Regions from separate parts of the Homo sapiens genome. Here region 2 is linked to region 1. Evidence: promoter capture Hi-C in human tissues and cell types (Jung and others, 2019). All regions are on one chromosome and are shown on one strand. Each heading gives the region's core, a stretch centred on a gene start or on the middle of the fragment in contact. The rest is flanking DNA. Distances are from core to core; before and after follow the strand shown.

Evidence for each region. The method cuts DNA at HindIII sites, captures the fragments that hold promoters and counts their contacts. A contact is called where the count stands out against the background at its distance.
Region 2: a contact is called between a fragment that was not itself captured here and the fragment with the promoter of RAB31 in region 1, in 1 of the 25 tissues and cell types used here (lymphoblastoid cells).

The regions. Positions count from the first base shown.
Region 1 is chr18:9,706,758-9,710,422 of GRCh38, reverse strand. RAB31 (RAB31, member RAS oncogene family) reads right to left here and starts at 2,122. Exons shown (of 7, transcript NM_006868.4): 1 at 1,979-2,122. The coding sequence starts at 2,017. LOC124904244 (a long non-coding RNA gene) reads left to right here and starts at 2,451. Exons shown (of 2, transcript XR_007066281.1): 1 at 2,451-3,665. It overlaps LOC105371981 (a long non-coding RNA gene), which reads right to left and starts at 1,751. Exons shown (of 2, transcript XR_935131.2): 1 at 430-1,751. RefSeq lists silencers at 1,528-1,757, 1,858-2,427. The HindIII fragment of the contact is 12,091 bases long and covers 1-3,665 here.
Region 2 is chr18:9,857,174-9,861,003 of GRCh38, reverse strand. It overlaps RAB31 (RAB31, member RAS oncogene family), which reads right to left. Exons shown (of 7, transcript NM_006868.4): 7 at 1-1,776. The coding sequence ends at 1,679. Among named protein-coding and RNA genes, the nearest start is that of TXNDC2, 27 kb to the left of the region's middle. The HindIII fragment of the contact is 5,057 bases long and covers 1-3,830 here.

The DNA of each region.
Region 1 (3,665 bases), core at 873-3,372:
TCTTTCTTGGAGATAAAAGAAGTAAAGAGATTTCCTCCAGCTTCCTCCTCTCCCAGGTTTGCTAATTGGCACCCTGAACTCATAGATTAGCAGGAAATGGTAACATGTATCTTAAGAGATCATCTGGTGTAGTCCTCTGCCTAAAGGGGGAACATGTTATTATGCCCATTTCATAGATGAGGCCACTGAGTTGCTTTGCTAAAACGACACAGCTCTTTGGTGGGAAAGAACGAGAGCCTAGGTTTCCTGCCTCTTGACACAGGGTTCTTGCCACCTGATCAGTGTCCTGGTAGGAGGACATAGAGACCTGTCCCTAAACACCGAAACTGAAAATAAGGGGTCCTGTGACACGGCAGGGCTTGGACCACCTCAGTAAAAGTCAAGAGAAAAGAGTTGCAGAAAAAAAGGCAAAAATATGTCCTATTTCACCTTTCCCAAGGCCAGTCCTGACAAACACGGCACATCAAGGCTGCCTCTTCATTCCTTGGAACACGACATTCCTTCTAAGTCTCTGAAGGCCTTTCCTGAGGCTGAAATGGCCCCTCAAGAGGGAAGCATGGGATTCCTGGAATTTATGTCTGGAAATATTAGAGGGCCTGGGGAACAGGAAAACCCACTCCTGCCACACAAAAAGGTCAACAGAGAAAGACCAGACTAGATCCTGGCTGTGGCTGAGCAAGTCGGGGGAGGTGGGGATCTGTGCGGATCTGTGCCAGGGGCTAGCAGGGAGGGCAGGGCCTTCCCAGATCCTCTGGAATTCTAAGCCAACCGGACAATCGAGTTAGCGTAAGGGATGGTTTTGGAAGAGGCCGGTGATGGGAGCCGATGATGGGAGCCTGCCGGAGGTTCCACAAGAGCCTAGAGGAAGCCTAGAGACGCTGGCACAATTCAGTCCTCACCGAAATCATTTCCTCTTTCTACAGTTCTTGTACCCCCATCTTGACAGATCAGTTCGCACAAGAATGCGACCCTTTCGCTGCCCTTTTTTAGGAAATGGTTTTCATGAGACCAGCTTTGCCAATGACACGGGCGGGTACACCAGATGCTAATGGCTGCTGAAAACGCCCTTAGAACCGGCTCTTCTTTTAGAAGAAGGAATTCTGGAATGCGGAGTGGGCCCCCGAAAGGAAGCGACCCTACGTTTATCTGAATTCCCAGGGGCGGTTCGCCAGCGGCTCCCTGCGTCCTCGCCGGGTCCCCTGTCTGCAGTCCCCGGGCCGCACGGATTGACTGCTTTTTTGTTTCTGGCTGCTTTAAGGCTTCTTCGGGCGGAGAAAACCCCACTTTAGGGGAGTGATGGTGGGGAGGACTTTCCCAGGCAGCTTCTTTCACCCGCAGCAGGGAAGTTTGCAGGGCGCGCTCCGCACAGGTCACTGCCTCACCTTCCACCCCGGCCGCGCCCTCGGCTTTCACCCCCTTGGCTGGGTTCGCTTTTGGTTTTATTTTTCTGTTTTACGTGAGTAAATCAATTGCCCCCAGGAGGCAAAAGAGCACTCAGCGACTTGGCTGAGCAACTTAAACTTTCTGCCGGAAGGAAACTATCAAAAGCGGAGGAGAAAGCCCTCGGGGCCCCAGACTCGCCGCCACTGCCCCGTCCCCGCTGGGGGTCCCCGCGAGGTCGCCGCGGATCCGGGGACTCGCGGGCCGGGAGGAAAGAGCGGAGTAAGCCCGGGGCAGGCTCGGACCCGGACCCCGGCAGGGTGAGAGCGGGGGCGGACCAGAGGGGCGCACGGACGGCGGGGAGGCGGAGAACAGGCGGGGTGCGGAGAGCGAGGGGCGCGGAGAGCGAGGGGCGCACGGACTAGGGGAGCCAGGGGGACCCGGGGAACCAGGGGGCGCGCGGACGAGGGGGACGGGGGCTACGAGAGGGGTGCGGAGAGCGAGGGGATCACGGGGACTGAGCGCGCAGGGAATAGGGGAGCGAAGGGGCGCGAGAGCGCGGGCCGGGGTCCGCCGGCGGGTGGCGGCCAGGACTCACCCCGAGAAGGCACACTTTGAGCTCCCGTATCGCCATCATGTGCTCGCAGCCAGGCAGTGCCGGGGCTCAGCAGCATCCTCCGGGGCCGCCGCGCCCGCGCCCCGCCGGCGTCTCTCGCCTCTGCCCCTCGCTCGCGCCGCCCGCGGGCGGAACCGCCGCCGCTGCTATTTCTGGGCCGCCGGCCCCGCCGCGGTGGGTCACGTGGCCGCCGGCCGGCTCCTCCCGGGCGCGTCGGGTCCAGCCTCGCCGGCCCCCAGCTCCCAGGAACGCCCCCGGACGGCGTCAGCCACCCGGGACCTGCGGCGTCGCCGGCGGATTGCCTCCGCCCTCGGACCAGCCCCGCGCGGGTCGGCCTCCCCCAGCGCCCTCCGGCATCCGCCCCTCCCGGCCCCGCCTGGCCGCAGGGCCCGGGTGGGTAGGAAGGACTGGACCGGCCCTGTGGAGACCTGGCCCCACTACCAGCGGGTCCCTGAAGATGCCATTCTCATCTGGAAAGCGAATGCTCTCGGCCGAGGCCGTTTGCGTGGCAGCGCGTGGAGGTCTGCGGGGGTCCCATCCTCAAGCGACATTCTGGGTCCCACGCAGAAAAAGTCAGGCCACTGAAGGGGCCGCTGTGAGGACAGGGGTGAGGAGAAGGGGGCTAACTTTTCGGCCTGCCTTTCTCGACGTTCCTAATACCCGAGCTTCCGTTTAACATATGTGTGGCTCTTCAGCTCAGCCAAGTTCATTTTTCTGTATGCAGCTGAAAATGATTCTAGAAGCAAAACTCGCTGTCCGTGTCTGAAACGGGAAACTTGCTTTCTGGAGCAAAAGTCTTTTTCTCAGTAGAGCAAATCCTGCAACTCGTGTGGGCAGAAACCCAGTCCTCAGAGGTACAGGTAGAAACGTGGAGATCCCAGCAGACCCCTGCATCGTTCCTAACTGGGAAATGAGCAGAGTCTGTGGCCGCACACAGTCGGGGAGGCTTGGGTAACTGTGTTCTCTTCTCCATGTATGGCCTAGAGCACCTCATCCACTCGGATGACTTCATTCGTTGCTGCTACAGAAATGTCAGCCTTTTCAATGTAATCTATCTGAACAATTCACTGGCATTTCAGATGGGAAATGTTTTTTTAAAAACTGATTTTTTGAAACTTCATCTCCTATCCCAAACTCTCAGGCCTCTCTCTTAACCTTCCAATTTTAATCAATGGCATTTCCATTCTCCTAGCAGACCACCCACCGTGATCATCTGGCTTTGTTCTTACGGAAGCCAGGTTGAAGCTACCCAGTACCCAAGTAGCCCCATCCAATGGGAAATTCCAAATCAAGGCCTCCAAAGAGATAAGTCCTGGAATACAGGAGTCAAAATGGGCCCCGAAACAGACAATTCACAATTAAATTCCCCAGAAGAGCAGGAAGTTTGCCCTCGAGGTGCAGGCTTGTAGAGATTACTCAAATGGACTAAACTGTACAAAAGGCAGCCATGGACAAGTTACAGGTCCATTGTATCAGTATCCGTCCTTGACTCTGTATCCAAAGCAGAGTCTTCTATGTGGGCAGGGTAAAAAGAGGCTTCCCCAGAATCAAACAGTCCTGATCACAATATCTCCCTGCCCTCAGATTTGCTAATCAGAAAACCACCCCTACACAGTTGCAAAGACACCTCCCCCAAGGCCTTCGCCAGCCCTGAGGGCACCTCCACAGT
Region 2 (3,830 bases), core at 1,061-3,560, 150 kb before region 1:
CCCCTGTCAAGACATCCAAATGCCGCTTGCTAACAGTTTTTGAGGTACCTATTTGGGAGAGCCAAGTGGAACTCTTGAAGCAAAATAAGTGTTTCCCAGCCTTCACATCCTAACACTGTCAATGAACTCTCTTAAGTTGAGTGAAGTGGAAGCGTGCTGAGTTACTGAAGTGCCAGGTCTTTAATCCAATCAGCTCACAACCTCTTTCCTGACTTTTGCGATATAGATTGTCAATAAAGGTTAGCCGTCCCTTGAATGCTCATGGCAAAGAAGGTACCAGCTGGCCCTGGCTAGCACACAGCATGATTAACCATTTCTGAGCACCAATCCTAATGTCCTTTAAGAATCACCCCCTAATATAAGCCCTGGCAGGAAATCAGCTGCTTCTTGATCCCAACTTTTTATGAAAGTTAGAATGGTAATAGAATTTGAATTTTCAGTAGGAATCAGTTCTCTTCCTTTCCATGCTTTTTCTTCCTTGACTTCCTTTGGATTCAAACATCTTTAATTGAGCAGACAGGGAATCTGAAAAGGAAGGTTTTCATCGGAGCCCATTCTCAGTTCCTTGGCATTCTAGGGTCAGACCTCTGGTTAGCCCTAAAGCCCTTCTCCTCAAGCTAGAAACATAAAAATACTTTTTCTGATTTTGTAGTTTTTTGGGGTCTAGAATTTTAAAGTGCTGACACTTCCTCTGGCTGGCTTTCCTGTAACCTATTATTAATTGTTATTATTAGAAGTTTGCCCAATGATTTAGATTCAAACATTAAATTTAATTCTAGTTAATTCTCTTCCCCTAGATATGACACCAAGAGATATTCTCTTAGTAAAATAATACTATGTGCGTTAAACTTCTCTAAGAGAGGACGAATGTATTCCTGCGGAGGAGATGCATGTCAGGTGGTCTCTTGAATAATGTGTATGTCCTGCATCTCTCACCACTTACATAGTGATTACTTAAATCACTCTTTCAAACTAGGCCACCCAATCCCAAAATTATATGCAGTAATTTAGTTTGATTTGGTTTGTTTGGGTATATATGACCATAACTTAGAAAAATTGTTCACCAATTAAAAGTGGTGTAGACAACAGTTTCTAATACACTTTTCCTGGCTTCTGTAATAACTCAAGTCTCAGTCTGAGTGACGGTCCATTGACACTTCTCTGATTTCCTCCAAAAAGTAATAAATAAAGGCTTACTTCCAAAGCTAGCTAAAAACTAACCTCCTGAACTAAATTTGCCTTTCAGTGAAGGTTGGTTAGGTAACAAAGGCAATGACACTGAAGTAGTTACTGGAATTTGGATAGGTAGCACAGGAAATCCAAGTGGAATGCCACTTTAGAATCCCATACACATAATAAGGCAGTAAGACTTTTGTACACATCCAACAATTTTTAAAGGTTTTTTTTTTTTTTTAGCAAAAATGCAACTACATCCCCTCCATGTGCATTTCATACACTAAAGGCCATTTTGTGGTGGTGTGGTGGGTTTTCCCAGGGTTTTCTAAAATCCTTTTCAGGTACATTTCCTGCCCCGCCCCCTGCAGGTCTTCCAGGATGCAAAGCCAGTGTGCTCACTCTTCTCAAAGTGAGGTGCCAGGCCACCGAGCGTAGGGTCCTTCAGCAGTGCACAGGATGTGGGCTCTGGCTTCTTCAAGTACCGTGGACCACGGCCCTTGGGTCAACAGCACCGGCGGCTGGCTTGCATGGTTGGCTTCTCAACTTTGATTGTTCCATTGTTTCCATTTTCATGGGGGTCCAAGGGTGGGATCTGGCGGCCTGCAACAAAAAGGAGGCCAAGGGTGAGTTCCCTTTCCTACAGCCAACACTGCACACACAGATTTTCACCCTGCTTCAACACTCCTGCTTTGGGCTGTGCACAAAATAAAGGTGTTCCTGGAGGGGCTCCTTTCTCCTTCCTTCCTTTCCTTCCTCCCTTCCTTCTTCCTATCCTTTCCTCCCTAGTTCTGCTGCATGAAGCCCAATTCATGGGCTTAGGAAGTTCAGGTAAGGAACAGTCCAGCAGTTTCCTGGTGGTGTGGAATTCCTGGGCTAGGAAGATCCACTCCTGGGGGCAGCTCCCATCCAGCCTCCGCTCATCAGCGCGCTCTTCCCTCTCCCTGCCTTCCCAGAGACCCATCCTGGTTTAATGAGCGGCTTTCATGGTACCGTGACTTCAACAGTAACAGTGAGTACTCATCCATCTTTTCTGCTTCTCAAAATAGAAATAGATTTGAATTGTAATCTTCCTAGCAGTGTCATTTATTAACACTTAGCTCATCATCCCTCATCCTGCCAATGCATTTAGATCATTAACTGGAAAGCCCTACAGAGACACTTTTCATAGGAAACAGTATTTTAATGTCATCCACAAGTAATCTTATTTTTACTTAACTTAATTTTAAAAATTATCAGAAAGTCTCTATAAATAAACACAAAATCAAAATTAAACAGGCAATGGAAGGGGCCAGGGAGATGACAGCTAAAGGGTATGGGTTTCTTTATGAGGTGATTTTTCTAAAATTGACTGTGCTGATGGCTGCACAGATCTGTGAATATACCAACACCACCGAATTGTACATTTGAAATGGGTGAAATGTATGGTATGTGAATTTTATCTCAATAAAGTTGTTTTCTGAAAAAAGGCAATGGAATCTGGAAATAACCTTAGTAGCTCCCAGTTTTCAAAGATTTTCACAAACACCATCCTCACCTCGCCCTGTGAATTTGATGTAATGGTCGTTATTATCACCATTTCACTGTGACTCGAGAACTTGAGCACTTTGCTGAAGGTCCCATCAATAACAGGCAGTAGTACAGCTGGTGCTTTGATTATAATCTACACCTTGACTTCCTGATGGGTCGCAAGGCCTGTGCTCTTCCCACTGAACCACATTAGGTCTCTTTGCTACTTTTCTATGCCCCTTGAAAAAGGCATGAAACACTAGCTCTAAAATGAGGATTTTGTTTTATTCTTGAGACAGGGTCTCACTCTGTCACCCAGGCTGAAGTGCAGTGGCTTGATCATGGCTTACTGCAACCTCGAATTCCGGGGCTAAAGGGATCCTCCCACCTCAACCTTCTGAGTAGCTGGGACTATAGGTGTGCGCCACCATGCCCCGATAAATTTTTTTTTTTTTTTGTAGAGATAGGGTCTTGCTATGTTGCCCAGGCTGGTCTCAAACTCCTGGCCTCAAGTGATCCTCTCACCTTGGTCTCCTAAAGTGCTGAGATTACAGGTATGAGCCACCAGGCCTAGGCTAAAATGAATATCTATATCTATCTATCTATCTATCTATCTATCTATCTATCTATCTATCATCTATCTATCTATCTATCTATCTATCTATCTATCTATCTATCTATATTATTGGCTAGTTAGTGTATTCATTTGCTAAGGAACCAGTAATTAGAAGTGGAAGGGAAATTGGTTCTAAAGACAAAGTCTTTTTTTTTTTTGGTTGTGGTATTGATTTATTTTTCCCCAGCACATCTTAAAAATCACACATGGGCATTTGCTTAGAAAACAGTACAGTCTAAGAAAACCAGTAAGAGGAGAATCTGAACACACACTGATAGCACGGAATACTGACTATGCGCTGGGCCCTGACAAAGTCTTTTAATGCAAGTGGGTGTTACCTAATGACAATATAGAGCACCAAAACACCCCAGCAGAGGTGCATTTCCACAAGGGACAAAAAGAGTTGATTTCAAAGGTAATAATACATTGTGTAGATCAGATGGTATAGACAGTCACCAAAGCTTCAGCATAAAGATGAAGGTCACCAGCATTTAACTCCAAACTCAAAAGTAATAGTAGAGATCTTCATTTG